Regions from separate parts of the Homo sapiens genome. Here all the other regions are linked to region 1. The links are contacts of gene promoters, found by promoter capture Hi-C in human tissues and cell types (Jung and others, 2019). All regions are on one chromosome and are shown on one strand. Each heading gives the region's core, a stretch centred on a gene start or on the middle of the fragment in contact. The rest is flanking DNA. Distances are from core to core; before and after follow the strand shown.

Evidence for each region. Contacts are between HindIII fragments. The study calls those that stand out against the background at their distance.
Region 2: a fragment that was not itself captured here is called in contact with the fragment with the promoter of TDRD3 in region 1 in 1 of the 25 tissues and cell types used here (lymphoblastoid cells).
Region 3: a fragment that was not itself captured here is called in contact with the fragment with the promoter of TDRD3 in region 1 in 2 of the 25 tissues and cell types used here (H1 embryonic stem cells and mesendoderm cells).
Region 4: a contact is called between a fragment that was not itself captured here and the fragment with the promoter of TDRD3 in region 1, in 3 of the 25 tissues and cell types used here (dorsolateral prefrontal cortex, lymphoblastoid cells and mesendoderm cells).
Region 5: a fragment that was not itself captured here is called in contact with the fragment with the promoter of TDRD3 in region 1 in 1 of the 25 tissues and cell types used here (lymphoblastoid cells).
Region 6: a contact is called between a fragment that was not itself captured here and the fragment with the promoter of TDRD3 in region 1, in 1 of the 25 tissues and cell types used here (lymphoblastoid cells).

Annotation. Positions count from the first base shown.
Region 1 is chr13:60,395,842-60,398,698 of GRCh38, forward strand. It overlaps TDRD3 (tudor domain containing 3), which reads left to right and starts at 1,379. Exons shown (of 14, transcript NM_001146070.2): 1 at 1,379-1,564. The coding sequence starts at 1,524. RefSeq lists enhancers at 301-370, 701-1,030, 739-1,251, 1,101-1,300, 2,181-2,230 and a silencer at 1,441-2,010. The HindIII fragment of the contact is 4,558 bases long and covers 1-2,144 here.
Region 2 is chr13:59,776,632-59,779,429 of GRCh38, forward strand. The region is part of intron 25 of DIAPH3 (diaphanous related formin 3); the gene reads right to left. Among named protein-coding and RNA genes, the nearest start is that of DIAPH3-AS1, 230 kb to the right of the region's middle. The HindIII fragment of the contact is 9,017 bases long and covers 1-2,798 here.
Region 3 is chr13:59,662,444-59,665,143 of GRCh38, forward strand. No RefSeq gene overlaps it. Among named protein-coding and RNA genes, the nearest start is that of DIAPH3-AS1, 350 kb to the right of the region's middle. The HindIII fragment of the contact is 6,973 bases long and covers 1-2,700 here.
Region 4 is chr13:59,722,536-59,725,235 of GRCh38, forward strand. All of the region lies in intron 27 of DIAPH3 (diaphanous related formin 3), which reads right to left. Among named protein-coding and RNA genes, the nearest start is that of DIAPH3-AS1, 290 kb to the right of the region's middle. The HindIII fragment of the contact is 4,835 bases long and covers 1-2,700 here.
Region 5 is chr13:59,807,768-59,810,700 of GRCh38, forward strand. The region is part of intron 25 of DIAPH3 (diaphanous related formin 3); the gene reads right to left. Among named protein-coding and RNA genes, the nearest start is that of DIAPH3-AS1, 200 kb to the right of the region's middle. The HindIII fragment of the contact is 5,884 bases long and covers 1-2,933 here.
Region 6 is chr13:59,686,719-59,689,448 of GRCh38, forward strand. All of the region lies in intron 27 of DIAPH3 (diaphanous related formin 3), which reads right to left. Among named protein-coding and RNA genes, the nearest start is that of DIAPH3-AS1, 320 kb to the right of the region's middle. The HindIII fragment of the contact is 4,477 bases long and covers 1-2,730 here.

The DNA of each region.
Region 1 (2,857 bases), core at 129-2,628:
CTTAAACACTGCATACTACTGCACATTGCAGCGAACAGGATGGAGCTACTTGTGATCTAAAATTATCTAAACAATATACTTGGGAGCAAATCTCAATAGCATTCCATCTAACGAAAGCATCGCGATTTTATAACTATGACTTTTGGGAAGACCAAACGGAATACCCCAGCTGAAATGAGAAAAATCTGTATTAAGGAATTTTAGCTCCACCCAGGGCAATTATCCCCTTCCTTCCGTAACTGCCAATTTCCTCCCCAATCCCAAGAGCGCCTCTGCCCAGTTCCGCAGTCTCTGCTCCAAGTCTGTTTTTGATGATGCCCTTAGAAGCAGGGGCAGCGGCAAGCGGCGGAGATAGGGATTAAGTTCCTAACAGTCTTCTTCCCCTGACCTGGCAGATGGGGACGCTGCCCCTTAGAAGCCTTTTTCCCCGCAATACGGGACGCCGCAGAGGTGAAAGACCAAGAAGGTGGAGCAAACTTTTAGGGAGCGCCTCTTGGGCCCGCGTACCCTTCCGCCTGTTCCTCTCTGATTGGCCAGCGTGAGTCACGGACGCCCAATCGCGCGGTAGCGTCCGCCGTGCCGCTGGGCGACGGCGGCGCGCATGCCCACTCAGGGACCCACCCTGCGCCCCAGCCCTCTACAGCGCGGGCGAAGGGCATCGGCGGGGAAGCGGCTGTGGTTGCCAGATCTGGCAGTACAGAGCCAAGGTGGCAGGGCCGCGCTAGGACACGGATGGTCCCAGGGGGAGGGCAACAGGAAAAACAAGCACTGACACAACTGCCCCATTTCCCCATGTCCCCTAAAAGCAGGTTTTCTTGGGCTGACCAGGGCATTTTCACTGTGGTGTCCGACTGGGGCAACTCGATCTGCCCGCGGGGACTCAAAAAAGCTTGAGCTGCATTTTTTCTTTGCGTCCGGGCGGACCAAAAGGCGAGGTGAAGGGAACGAGTGTTTATAAGAAAGTAAACTTTTGTGCAGAATGGGCTGGGGACACCTCTGAGTTTTGCTGCCCGCAACGTGACCTTTTTAGCGCGGTCCTGGACGCGTTCCCTCGCAGCCAACCCGTCAGTCTCCTCAGGCCTTATCCTGCCCTCTCTGAGGTGGCCGCCTGTGGGCGCTGCAAACGCCACACTTTTGCTCTACGAAGAACCTCCTCGCGACTTTCCAAGGTGTGCAACTCAGAAAAGCGCCCCCCAAAACAAGTAAAAGCCTTCGGGGAAGAGGCAAAGTCCCTGAACCGTCCTGACTCCAGCCACCAGCCGGTGTTTGGTGGATCAGGTCCCGGAGCTCCGCAGCCTGGGAGCCCCACACCAGGCCGGCCCCTACGGCCGCTCAGAAAACGCGGCGAGCGGAACCCGCACGCGGAAGCGCCGGCCGCACTGAGCATGCCCAGTTGCAGAGCCGACCAGAGGAGTTTTTTCTTTTCTTTTCTTTTTTTTTTTTTAAGGGGGGGGGTCTCAAGTAGGAGGCCTCCCCATCACCCCCACCCCAGCCCCCCACCACCCCCGGCCTAAGCAGCTACCATGGCCCAGGTGGCCGGCGCGGCGTTGTCCCAGGCGGGTTGGTAAGTGGCGAGTCCCGCCGGCTGCCGGGCCGCGGGTGCGGGCCGGGGCCCCAGGGAGGTTGGGTTGGGGGCGGCGGGGTGCGTGTCGGGGTAGGCGGAGGCTGTCGTCCGCCCCCGGCCTCTCCCCGGGCCCTTCGGGCCGGCTCCGCCCCCGGCGCCACGCGGAGCCCTGCGAGTTCCCCTAGGTCCCCTGGAGGCGGCGGCGGCGGCGGCCTGGGCCCCGGGCGGCGGGCCTGGGCCCCGGGCGGCGGGCGGCGGGCCTGGGGAGAGGCCGGGGGCCGCGAGCCGGGCGGGTGGCGGCCCAGACCCCGGCCGACCGGAGCGCCGGGGAGGACCTGCAGCGCCGTCCGCGCGGCTTCTCCGGGGAGGGGGTGTTTCTGCAGCGGGATCGGGAGGCGAGGGCTGGGAACGAAGTGCGGCGGAGAGGGACGAACGCGGCCGGAGCCCGCGGGCCCATAGGAAGTTGAGGGCAGAGCAGAGCACAGCCCGCGCTGCGGCCGGAGCCGCCTCTTCTTACCCCTTATTTCAAAGTACAGTGTGGACCAGTGTGAATCTGCCTTCCGCGGCACACACACAACTTCTGGAGCTAAGAATGACCGCAATGTCAACTCGTGGGGGTGCTCGGTAGAACTTTTCTTGAAAGGATGGTGTTCTGATTTTAAGAGGCCTTTCGTGTCAAGATTTTCAGGATTTGAAAACAATACAAAATTATGCGAAATTAGGCAGTTTCTGGAATTGCGGCCATTACGGTTGTAATCATCCCGTTTAATTCAGTAACGCTTTTCCCAGGCTTGCACAGGCACATTCTGGGATGAAGGGTAGGAACGGGGATGAAAAAGATTTGCAACGGCTCTCTGCAATTACTGCTTTAGGAGAAAGAGTGAGGCATTAAAAGACCAAACAAAACCAGGGGGAATAGTGATAAACCGTACGTACAGAGGAACAGATGAGTGCACTGTGGAATGGGAGGGAGAGTTACTTTCCTAAAGTGGACTTGGAAAGATGGTAAGGAAAAGGCTTTCTAGCACAGAGCTGCTGGAGATGACACAGGGAAGCGCTTATTGTTTTGCAGAACCTACACAAGATCTATATGGTTCGTGAAAGATGTGGATTTGATTTTGTGAATAAAGTTTTTGATCAGTAGAGGGATATAATCACAACTGTGCTTTGAAGAAGCCCCTCCTGATTTTAAAGGCACTTGTGTTATTATACACCCCATTTTACAGGTGAGGAGACTGAGGCAAAGAGCTGTTAAGTAACTTTCCCAAAATGACATAGCTAGAAAGTGGTGGA
Region 2 (2,798 bases), core at 267-2,766, 620 kb before region 1:
GGGGGAAAAAAGAATCCAAGTAACTTTTGAATACTTTAATGGCATAAAGTTTAAGGGAAAAAAACTATAAAGAAAATGTGAACTTTCTTCTTAGTAAATTTATTGTTGGTAGTGGTATTGATGTAGTGATTCTCAGACTATTGTGTGTGTATAAAAGCTGGAGCAGATGTGTAAATGTGCCGATGTGCTCACTGTGGGAAAGAAAATGGAAATATGGAATTGGAGAAAAAGAAAAAGAACCAAGAAGGGTTGGATTGGATGTATAGGTATTAATGTAAGCTCAAGGCTTAACAAAACAAAACAAACAAACAAACAAACAAAAAAACCCTTTTCCTATAACACTATAGTAGCATCAATGAGCATTTGGATCTTGGTTTCTAGCTACCGTTACTAGTCCTAAAATCTTCGTTTCTAATGACCTCTCTCGCCCTCAGATCTTGGTTTCTACATACCATTACTCCCTAAAAGGAATGACAATGCTTACAGAAATGGCTGATTCTAGAACTGAGGCCAAGAAAGTGTGAAATGAGTCAGAAACATATTGTTGTGCCAGAAAATAAGAAAGTGCTCAAAAATAGATAGTGATATGTTGAAAAGACAAAGAAGCCAGATTGAAACATTGCCTTGGCCAAATTTAGGACAACTGAGTATCAAATAAATAATCATGGGAATGGGATTATTGCACACTGAGGAAAAAAGAATCATGCATCCATAGTGATACTAAAAAATACATAGTAATAAAAATGTAGGAAGGAGAGTTCCTCTTTAAAGAACAGTGTCAACTAATAGATGTCAAAGATATGAGGGAACTACAAAATTCACCACATTACAATTCACATAGTAAGAAATGATTCAGGCAGGAGTCATCAACGGTTGCAAAAACTATTGTGCATAAGGGATGTAGAGGAACAGGATATAGAGAAATCTGGTAGATACCACCTTATCCAAATAATCAAATTTGACATTACCAACAATGTGGAATATGCTGATATCAATTGCCTCCTGAAGTGATGCACAACTTAACCTGTGTAGCACTTCGCACAAAAATATTTAACTTGAATCTGAATGCAAGGCAACAATCATAGAAGTCCAAAGTAAGGGACATTCTGTGACACAACTGGCCTAGGATCTAAAAATGTATCAATATCATGAAAGATAAAGAGAGGAAGAAATAGAGAAAGAGAGAAGAAAAGGCTAGAGAACTGTTCTAGATTAAAAGAGACTAAAGAGGAACGACAATGAAGTATAGAGGAGTCCCTGATTAACCCCTGAATTGAAAGAAGTTATATATGACGTTATTGGGATAACTGGAGAAATTTGAATATGGACTGGGTATCAGATAATTACATTGTACCAATGTTAAGTTATCAGAGTGTGATAACTGTATTATGGTTCACTAGAATAATCTCATTGTTCTTAGGCAATAAATGCTGACAGTTTTAGGCTCACAAAACAACTTACACAGTCTCATGTTTATTACTTCATGCCTTTGAACATGCTATTATATCTACACAGAACATCTGTCTCACTTTCTTCACCAAGCTAGCTCTTACCCTTCCTTCAAAACGGAGAACTGAGAATCCTTTCCTGACCCATGTGGCATAAACTAGGTGCCCCTCTGTGTCCCAGTGGTCTGTAATACATATACCAATAAATTCTTTACAATGTTATATTGTTTATGTGACTCTTTCTACCACTAAACCACGAGCCCACTGAGGGCAGGGATTATAGATTTCATTTATCTTCAACACCTGGCAAAATGCGACTATTATATAGAGAGTGTTCAATAAATATATGCTGGCTAAATTAGCTAAATATATGTTGACTAAATTAGCTAAATATATGTTGACTAAATTAGCTAAGATGGTCAGCTGGAAGGGTTGATTATGCATGAGAATAAAGCTCATAGATGGACAGGGGTCCAGGGAAGAGATGGGAATACATTCCCGCCACCATTCTAAACAACACAGCTTTCTTTCTTCCTTTTCCCTTGTCTCATACATCTATTTAGTTGTCAAATACTATAGACTGAAACTCCCCATTATCTCCTGAACTAATCTGCTGTTCCTTTTCTAACTACACTTTATGTTGGTATTACAGAACTGAATTATTTTTTATCTGGAATACTGCATGAGTTGCCTAGTCACATTGCTTCCAGTTTCTCCCTAATTCTGCCCATGCATTACTGATAAGTAAGTCCTACAGCAGAAATGATCTTCAGTTCCCCCGGTCACAAAGTTTCAATATATCTCAGTTCTTACAATATAAAGTTCCAACTCTTTTTTTCATTTTTATTTTTAATTTTCTTTTTTTTGCTCAAATGGATTTTGACAGATAAAGTCCAAACTCTTATTCCTACCCCAACAATGATTTCAATTGTATTTCCAATTGTATCTCTTACTTCCAACCATCCCAACCTGTTCTTTAGCTAAAGGCAACTGCCTGTGATTCTCTACAAACATTCTTTCTCTCGTCCATCACTGTCCACCTGGAACCTCTACCCCTGCTCTCATCCTCCAGAGCAGATGGCTATTTTTGGCCTTCACTCTCACATGCATAATGGGAAGAATACAATAATGAAGTAAAACAACTTGCATTCTAGTCTGAGCTTTCAACTAACTACCTGTGAGACACTAGACTATTATATACATAATCATTCCTGACATATGCAATACAGACAATACCTGTCTAGGGTTAATGAGGGAATCAAATGAGATAATACAAATGAAAGCACTTGATAAATTGCTAAGTGATATACAAATATAGGGAAAGAAATTCACAGATAAAATCCATGGTAA
Region 3 (2,700 bases), core at 179-2,678, 730 kb before region 1:
TCGAGCAAAACGGTTGAACAATGTGGCCCTAGGACATATTTTAAGAACACTCATGCCTGGTTACCATTTAAGAATTCACCAGACAAAAATGATTACCAGGTCACTGCCAGCTACAATTCTTACATTTCAACATTTTAAATAATTTATATGAAAGGCAAAGAAAATAAATGTCACTTTTTTGGTTTTCAATCAAACTAGCAGTTCACATATTAGGACCTATTACTTTCCAAAAGTCACACAGTCCCTACAAAAGTTTGCCACACAACTTATCACCAAAAGTATTTCCAGTCTACATGTGTTTACATATCAAAGAAAGCTTAATTAATCAGAGGAAATCTAGCACAAATGTATGTTATAGCCTAAATAATTTAGTTTCTAGCTAAATGAAGATCTACTTCAGATTATGATATTTTAAAATAAAAATGAATCACCCAAGAAATAATCACTTTTGGGTAAACTATCATTTTAATGTCATTAATCGTTCCTGTTTTTGAGTAAATAGTATATTAACAACTAAAAGAGTTTCGGAGCAACTTGTTGTAAATTGTGTTTTTTAGATTTACCAGAAAATTTTGATATGAATTATTGAAATACCCACTTCCGCATATAAAAACTAGGTGTCTTTGATATATTGTTTAAATATGCAAATATGTTAACAATAAAGGAGATACAAGCTCATGTAATGAGATTACTTCCATTATTTTTAAGTTACTTTAAATATTTGTTGGGGAAAACTTGTTAGCAGTGGATCATTGCTCTAGGACAACTCAATGACCACCCAATTGTCTGTGTGTTCCAGCCAAATTCTCTACACTAACATGAGAAAGGGCACAATGATCTTTCTGGGATCAGGGGTGTATTAGTCTGTTCTCACTCTGCTAATAAAGATATAACCAAGACTGGGTAATTTATAAAGGAAAGAGGTTTAATGGACTCACAGTTCCACATGGCCTCACAATCATGGCAGAAGAGCAAGGGATGTCTTACATGGTGGCAGGCAAGAGAGAGCTTGTGCAGGGGAACTCCCCTTTATAAACCATCAGATCTCATGAGACTTATTCACTATCATGAGAACAGCACAAGAAAGACCTCCCACCAGGTCCCTCCCATGACACATGGGAATTATGGGAGCTACAATTCAAGATGAGATTTGGATGGGGACACTGCCAAACCATATCATGGGGTTTGTCACTGGCCTGGATGGAACATCCTTGTCAAGATGCACACACACACACACACACACACACACACACTTAGAGAGACAGACAAAAGAAAGAGAGAGAGGGAGAGTGCACGGTTTATAATGAGGGATTGGACCAGGTGATTTTTTGGAAGCTGAGAAGTCCCACCATCTGCCATCTGCCAGCTGAAGGTGTAATTCCAGTCCAACCTCAAAGGCCTGAGAAGCAGAAAAGCCCGTGATGTAAATCCTAGTCTGAGTTCAAAGGTCCACGAACCGGGAAGGCCGATGAGAAAGGGCAGGAGAGGACGATGTCGCAACTGAAGTAGAGTGTGCAGATTTACACTTTCTCCACTTTCTGTTCTATTCTGGCCCTCAGGAGACTGGATGATGCCCACCTACAGTGGGAGGGCTATCTTCCTTATTCAGTCTATGTATGCAAATGCAAATCTCTTCCAGAAACACCCTCACAGGCACAATAAGAAATAAAACCGTACCGCTTGTCTGGGGCATCCTTTAGCCCAGTCAAGTTGACACATAAAATTAATCATCTGCCGGGCACGGTGGCTCATGCCTGTAATCCCAGCACTTTGGGAGGCCTAGGCGGGCGGATCACGAGGTCAGGAGATCGAGACCATTCTGGCTAACACAGTGAAACCCCGTCTCTACTAAAAATTAGCCAGACGTGGTGGTGGGCGCCTATAGTCCTAGCTACTCGGGAGGCTGAGGCAGGAGAGTGGTGTGAACCTGGGAGGCAGAGCTTGCAGAGAGCAGAGATCGCACCAGTGCACTCCAGCCTGGGCGACAGACTCTGTCTCAAAAAAAAAAAAAAAATTAATCATTATACTGGCTCATTCAAATGAACAAACTGCTTATTCAAAAAAATAAAATTGTACCTCAACTCCTGCCCTCAAATTAAAGGTCAATGCTATGGTTTGGCTAAGGAAATATCATGCATTTTAAAACCCTAATCATACCTCTAGCCCATTGCTGAAAGGGCATCTACCAATAAAAGTATCTCCAAATGATCGTTCCTTGAGTTGGTACTCACCTTTATCAGACATTTAGAGGTTTCCTTTCCACAGCTATGGTCCTTTTTGGAGCCAGCTGCTGTCATCAAGGGAGAGAGAGTGCTGGCTGCTGACCTGTGGGTGGCCAGACGCTTCTGATACTCTGCTAGCCTTGGGCTCCTGGCCCTCTTGCTTGAAAGTTGTCCTCAGCCCCTGCAGACAGACGCTCTGGGGCTTGACTGCTCCATTTCTGGACTTCCTTGCCTTCCTCTGCCCCTCGGAGTCTCCGTCATCTTCACTTTCCTTTATTTGCCGGGCTTCTTCTCCCCCGTGGCTGCTCCCCGGTCCCAAGTTTCCAGAGTTTTTACCTGCTTCCTGGTGTGCCCAAACTATCTAGTTGAATTTAAGTTTTGTTTCTGAAAAACCCAAGTCTGCAAAATCACATTAAGAACTGATAGTGAGAGTTCTTTCATTTAAATTCTTTCCTAAACAAAACAATCCTGCCTTGTT
Region 4 (2,700 bases), core at 16-2,515, 670 kb before region 1:
TCTTGCAAGTGTGACTGTGGAAGCATTTGGTTTTCTCTCATAGCACCAGCAACCATCCTTGTATCTAGTCACTAGCTGTGTAGTACTAAAAGGCAGAAAGATAGCTCTCTGTTATGCTGGTGTGGATTGTAACAGGCACTGCAAGGTTCTGTGTCTGGCAGTAACAGTGGTGGCTTCCTGATCATGGGGACTTCCTGTTAGGGAGTGGCAGTGAGGTTCTGGAGCCAGCAGCTTCCCAATTCAGCAGGCAGTTTCTGTATCATAGAGCGGGGAGCAAATGCCATGGTAGCCTGTGTTAGGGCTTCACATGTAGCTCATCAAAGCTTGATCTAAATTGTTTCTTCAGTCCTCCTAATGACCCCGAATCCACTTACAATGTCATGATTAAATACTTCACTGCTTAAACTGGATTCTAGTCTCTGAGCCAGAACCCTGACCTATACAGCATGCCAGCACATACATACCCCTTCCAAGAAATGGATTTCCTATTTGGTAGTGATGAGGAAGAGGTTCTAAAACTCTATAGGAAAAATAACTCTTCAGAATAATGTTCAGGGACTAATGGGTGTGAACTCTTTCCCCCACTCTGAATGCAGATGTGTTCTTGGTGACACTGAGATATATTCCAGGACCAGGAGAGCTCAATGTTTAAAATATTCACTTGAGCCAAGGTGTCCAGATTGTTAGTGTACTTCTAGAATGTAAACCCTAAGACAGTAGTACAGTAAGAACTAAGCTTCTTAGAGTCAGTGAGACCCTATTTTCCAGCAACAGTGTGTCCTGGTAGCTGCAGGTGCCCATTCATTTCTAGAGGCAATGGATTCTGAGACATGCTACATCTGCTCCTGCTACGCATCCATCCAACTTTCCATAAGATGTTATACCCCTGGCTAATTAAAGTGGAAACCTAATTTAACTATATATTGTGTGTGTGTGTGTATGTGTGTGCGTGTGTGGTCTTTCCCCACCAATCTATAGCTCACTTGAAGTATTCAAGTCTCCTGGTAAAAGTCTGTTTTGTCGTACACTGTCTAAAGATTCTTTGTTAAGTGACACTGATCGAAAATGATGGTCTTTTTTTTTTTTCCTTTTTGAGATGAAGTCTCACACTGTCACCTGGGCTGGTGTGCAGTGGCGCAATCTCGGCTCGCTGCAATCTCCGCCTCCTGGGTTCAAGCAATTCTCCTGCCTCTGCCTCCCAAGTAGCTGGGACTACAGGTGTGTGCCACCGCACCCAGCTAATTTTTTTTTGTATTTTTAGTAGAGATGGGGTTTCACTATGTTGGCCAGGCTGGTCTCGAACTCCTGACCTCGTGATCCGCCCGCCTCGGCCTCCCAAAGTGCTGGGATTACAGGCATGAGCCACCGCACCCAGCCAGAAAATGATAGTCTATCTATCTGTTCACCTCAATGTGTTAAAAGTTAAAAAAAAAAAAAAAAAAAAAGAATATGATTGGCTGTCACTATGGGCCCTCAGTTTTTGTGATAAAGGGATAGTTCTCTATTATACACTGTGAGGGGCTTTACCAGCAAGTATGGGTAGGGTTGCAAGACTTGGCAAAATAAAATAATATAAAAAATGAGTACATTTAGTGAAGTATGAATTTTAGATAAACAATGAACAACTTTTTAGTATATGTATACCCTACACAACATTTAGGACATATTTATATTAAGTATTCATTGTTTACTTGAAATTTAAATTTAACTGACATTTCTATGTTTTATTTGGCAACCCTAGTAGTAGAAAAAACTCGTGTGTGAACTATCACTGCAGAGTGATCTTATTCCAAACCAGCTTAGGAGCCTGAGACTGTCTAAAGAATTTAAGACACCTGTTTTCAGATAGAAAGAATGAGCTCAGTATGGGTAATCCACGGCCTTATAAATAATGGGGAATAAATGGTACACAAAACTCTTGGTTGGCCTTACTCTCGGTATTTCTTGGGTTTTATTTCCTTGAGCCTAAATTCAAGTATGAATTTGCCTAGAAGATGCAGCCCAAGTTTTGGCACTCTAAAAGCTCTATTTCCTCTTTTTCCCCTGGCTGTTAGGAAGCTCAAAAATAAATCACAGTATTAACTTTTCACTTCTTCATCCTTAAAAAGATAAGCTACCTTAAATCCTTTCAAAAGGGGATGGGCCATAAATTGCCGATTGCGTCAAATGAGCTGGCTTTCCTTTATGGTAGTCACAGATAGTGAAAGAAATCGTTGTGAAAATTACACATAATAGAAATCACCTTCCTAATTTTTACACCTTTGGGGAATAGAAAGTACTTTGTTTACTTTAATTCTTCTATAAGTTCAAAATTTGGCTATATGAGTTGAAAATAAGATAGCATCTTGCACTATTGTTGCTGTGAGGAATATATGCCCCAGAAAAGAAAAGCTATTCTAGAGTTTCAACTTTTATTTATCAAGGACTGTATTCTATAATACATAGAAGAGAGCTGTATCAAGCAATTTACTGTTTTTAGTTGTTAAAAGTGTTCTACTGCTAAAATCTGAGAAGTGAAAATGTGGCTAAATTTTGAAATGTAATATATGTCTGGGAAATACAATAATTTGCAGCATAGCTAAGTTTTGCTCAAGTCTGGTGAGAGAACATGAAAAATTTTCAGACTAGCAATTTGCTGACTAGAAAATGACTATATTTTCAATCAGCCTAATATGGCAGTTGTTTTTCATAGGCAAAGAA
Region 5 (2,933 bases), core at 275-2,774, 590 kb before region 1:
AAATAAGATGAGCTCTATGATTAACGAAAGATATAATAAAACGTTTCTTTAAATCTATTGTTAAAATTAAAAACATTCAAGCTTTTTTTAAAATTAAGAAAAGAAGGTAATGTCATCAACATAAAATTACCTATTTTAAAGAAACATAAACCAGCTATTAAACACAATTGATGGCTAAATATTAGAATGCTTTTGGTAAAATTTAGAAACAGATCCTTTTATATTAAAACCTATATATCAAATATATGATTAAGGGAAGATTATAAATAAGTAGAGTACAGTCATATTATAAATAATCAAAACTAGAAAAGAAATGAAGTTGATATGAAATCAGTGAAAGGATGATTTTCTAAACTTAAAGGTGACAGAAAAAAATCACAAAGGCAAATATTAAAACATCATAGAATGAAAATAAAAGTTTTATATATATCAAGATATAGAAATAAAAAAGCCACATTAGAAGGAGGTATTTAAAATGTAAATATGAATACATACTGAGCTAACTTGTACAAATCAATAAGAAAAAGATAACAATTCACAACAGAGGAACTAAAAATGAACTTATAAACGCTTTTTAAAAGTCCAACTTTAGTAATACTCAAAGAAATGCAAATTAAGATAATAAAACATAATTTTAAAATCTATAAAATTAGCAAAAATCTTAAAAAATAAGAATATTCAACCAAGGCACAATCATAACCCAATGTTGAAAGTTGAGAAAATTAAAGTTATGCTTCTGAAAATCAGTTTGTAAGTATGCATCAAAAGTCTTAAAAATATCCTTTTCTATTCCATGTCCAATAAAATAATTACAAACATTTTCTATTTATGGACAAAAAGATTAATCACATTGAAAAGTCAGCAATAACTATTGTTCCATGACTTCATTACTGACTAATGCAAGTTAAATTGTATATGGCACAACCAGTGGAATCAATCATATATATATTAAAAATTATAAGAATTACAAGCTATGAATAACATGAAACATTCAAAAGTTCAGCAACATAAAGTGAGACACTGAATTGCATATTTACTAGGATCATAGCTACTATTAGAAGGCAGAAAAATTTAAAACTGAAAGAACAGTGTGCAGAAATGTTTACAGTGATTTTTTGGATAGGAAGATTATGGGTAACAGCCTTTTGATCTACTATTTTTTAGGTGTTTTCGATAATGTAAATAAATTTGAGAAATAAACTTATTCTTAAAAGTGAAAGCTTCCTTAGGGAGACATAAATTTAAATTAAAACATCACTGACATTACATTGGAAGTTTTATTAGAATTTCTTTGCCCTATCAAGTTTCAATCTTTCAAATTGGTATAAGAGAGAATTACTGAGACACTCTGTGTGATCAGACCCTGGGCAAAACCCACAAACAATACATCCAATCTGCCATCTAGCAACTCATCTAGATAACTATAGACAACGCTAAAAGAGCTAATGTTCAGGCTGGGAGCAGTGGCTCACGCCTGTAATCCCAGCACTTTGGGAGGCTGAGGTGGGTGGGTCACCTGAGGTCAGGAGTTAAAGACCAGCCTGGCCAACACGGCGAAACTCGGTCTCTACTAAAAATACAAAATTAGCCGGGCATGGTGGCGGGCCCCTGTAATCCCAGCCACTCGGGAGGCTTGAGGCAGGAGAATCCCTCGAACCCAGGAGGCAGAAGTTGCAGTGAGCCGAGATCGCGCCATTGCACTCCAGCCTGGGCAAGAAGAGCGAAACTCCATCTCAAAAAAAAAAAAAAAAGCTAATGTTCAAACACCAGAATCTTCTGTAAATTAGGAAGTAATATATTAATTTAAAATTCTTTCCAGAAGCATATTTTAAAAATAAATACTAAATCTTTCTGATCTCCATTTTTATTCATACTTAAAAATAATTCTGAGAATATTCCCTGAATTTCAAATATAAACAAGAAATTGTGCTTAGATGATTTTTCTTCCCAGGAAGAAACAAGTGCAATACATTAAGGTACTCGTTTCGCTTTAGTAAGCATAAAAATATACCTGTAAAGTGAAAGTAAAGAAGGCAAAGTAGGCATCTCTGTCTATTCCTGGGGAAACCTTAGGTGAATTTGCAACCCTGAATTGTAAACTATGGTGATTTAGCAGTGAAGCGGATGGATTTTAATTAAAGCCTTGTTCAATCCTTACTGACTTGGAAGTAGAAAAGCCAAATTTTTCAGGGAATGAAAATATAACTATATTTTACATAATTCTTTTGCTTCTAAATAAGTGGTATCTTTTAGCTTCTTGAAATACATATATACATATGTTTCTGTAAAATTTCAGTACCAGTCTCTAAAAGATACTTTGAAACATATTGACAACAATTTTGTCATGTTTACAAGAAAAAAAAAAGTATCCAAAATGTTCAGACTGCTTTTTTCTTTTTGTTGTTTTTTTGAAACAAAATCTCACTCTGTCTCCCAGGCTGGAGTGCAGTGTCAAGATCAAGGCATACTGCAGCCTCAACCTTCCAGGCTCAGGCGATCCTCCCACCTCAACCTCCCGAGTAGCTGGGACCACAGATTGGAATACACATAAATTCCATACATTACAATTGGCTGATATGTCGCTTAAGTCTCTTTCTTTTAAACAATGTTTATCCTCCATCACTTTTTTTCCCTCCCTTGGGATATTTTGTTGAAGAAACCGGGTTACATGTCCTATAGAATTTTCCACAGTCCATTTCTGACAGTTACTTTATTAACTGACATACATTATTAAAGATTGATTATTGAGGTAGTAATTAAAGAAACGTGAATACGCTGGAACGAAAACAGCATAACAGAGGACCAAATCACCTATGACCAACACTGGAATGAAGACACTACACTACTCGTTAGTAAATGGAAGGGAAAGAAGACCATAAAGAAAGAATTGTTCTATGGTTTAATTACAGAAACAAGTGGTTGTATTTTCCTTT
Region 6 (2,730 bases), core at 87-2,586, 710 kb before region 1:
GCCTGGCTTGTGTCAGAGGTTTATCAATTTACACAACCAGGGTAAGAACATTCTAAAGCAGACCCTATCATCACACATCCTCAGGCAAAACCATGTGCACCAAAGCATTACAGAAATAGCCTTCTGAAGTAGAATAGAGCACTAGGACAACAATGAAAAACATTGCAAACACCAGAAGCTTTCATGGTCTTTGACAAGTCATGGTATATAAAACAGTAACGACTTCAGAGCCATGGAGGTGCTAGGGGTTCATGTAAAAGCACCAACCATTTCTCTTTGTCTGCTCTTAGTTGAGCTTCCCTGTAAAGACTGAGTCTAGACCAAGAGGCAATATTAAAAACAAAAGGTTAGAGATCATCATGGGACATTAATTATGCAAAAGAAGGCAAAATGAATTTAATCAGAAGCAGCAGACTCAGTGCAGGAAGAATTTTCTCTTTTTGACAGAAGCAGTTAGGAAAACATTTATGGTAATACCACAGCATCTGCTGATTACAGTCAAAGCTGCAGGACACCAGCGTTAAATCACTGAGCCATCCTGACAGTTCCTGGGTACTCCAGTCACATCCAACAGCAATTTACAATGAAATTCATCCAAGTCTAAAAATCAGCCAACATGCCTCAACCAGAGCAAAATAACTTAGTTTGGACTTTTAAAAACAATTATAAGAGGGAATTATAGCTGATAAAACTTTTGATGGAGTATAAGTATTTGTCTCCAACAAATACAGTTTTAAAGAAAACACACCCATTTTTAGATCTATTAATATGCTTTGTGATCAGTCATATTTTGGAATTTATAGGAAGAAAGGATTTTATGAGGCTAAGAATACAGGAAGTAGAGTTTTAACCCTTTTGATAAGACGTCAGGACAAAATCTGACATCTCCTCTTAGTGTCTTGAAATGATATATTGAAAAAACTCAGAGAATGTTAGGATAAATTTTAAACAATTATAACTTGGTTGCTAAGCAAATATGGATAAAATAAAAAGTTCAGAGAGACAATGAACCACAATGTAGTGTAACATAAGGATGATTATTCGATGAACTGCCCATAGAAGTACAGGCAGGACAACCACATGCCATTATTACCCACTGGGAATTGCTGAGATGGTAATTAAAATAATGAAATCCTATAGATATTAACAACTAAAACTTTAATACTTAGGTGTTTCAGAGGGCTTTCTTGTGGTCAAAAACATATTGGTGTCTAAATTTAAATCTTTGAATGACACAAGAACCCAGAGAACAAAAGATTGTATTGAAGCCTTCAGAGATTAGCATTCACAAAAGTAAATGTCTCATATTTTATCCAAAATCAATACCAAAGATTTTCTTCCCCCAGTTGCTTTGGGAGTTCAGCTAAATATTATTCATAACATGAGAGATTAAAAGAAGAAGGAAACAAAAACTTTAAAATGGCTATTTTTGAAGGAAGCCATAGAAATTGTGGTCATAAGGGATGGCTCTATTGTTGTCTTTTTCTCAGCTTGATAAATTGTTTCAAAGTATGTTGGCCAAGCTAATCACTAGCACAATATTCACCTGCAATTTTAAAATCTGAATTTCTTTATTCTTTCCCCAAACATATTAAAAATGTCTCTAGACTTCTATTTATAGATATGACCTATTGATGGTAAAAGTGCACCTGAATAATCAAAACCACTGACAAAAAAATAATAACTGAAAAGGTCAAAAAGTGGATCAATTGAACATTTCAACCTCACAAGTAAGTCCAAACATAAATGAATAATGAATCCATAAATGTTTATTGAGCACCTATATGCATAAGACACAGAGCTAGGAACCACCAAGAAGTTTAAGGTACTGTCATTGGTCTGAAAGGGACCAGGGACAAAAGAGGAGCTTATGTTGACTCATTTTTAGTGTCACTCAAGTGTCAAATGAATTGTGCACATAATAAATACAATAGAATTTTGGTGGAGTGAGGTCCACCTAGAGATAGTTTAAGTGAAATCATGCTTCATAAGGGCAGGGTCTCATTTCAGTTTTGAGTAACAATAGGATTAGATACATCAGAAACAACTTGCAGGGAACTTTACGTAAAGGAAAAATCTATTAAAAATGCTACCAAGTACCCATTTAGTGGATGGTTAGGATTCAAGACAGGCCACACTCATGCAGATGAATATATGAAGACAATGAAAAAAACTCACATAACATGGGTTAACTAATACTAACATTTTAGTATCAAATTATGTTGGAAATTTCACATAGAAGATGTTTATGTAATAGAGTTTCACCAAAAAGCAATCAACTACGTAGACTGGGTTTCATCTTTATTATGTACTAGTCAATCCCCAGGCACAGAAAGAAAGCAATGATTGAGGGAGAGATAATTGTGAATCTCTTGTTATAGAAAGTTAAAGATTGCAAGAATTTAGCACCTTCTTTCTTCTGCTGCAAGAAAGTCTCCTGAAAGGCCACAAGATTTCTGAGGAAGCTTAAATACAGGGGAGAAAGTAAAGAAGGCCTGGACTACCTGGGGAGAGAGGCATTCTAATCAGTCAGAGAGAAGAATTTGAGCCTCAAGTATTCTGTTAGGAGTACGGCGGCCTCCTGCTGTCCACACCCTGTCTCCTTCTTCACCCACACAAGAGGAAGGAAGGAATGAGCTGGGAAAATGGGAAGTGCAGGTGGTATGATAAAACCGATGAAGGATTGAAAATGGATTGCACTAAAATAAAAAACAAACAGAGTCGTCATCA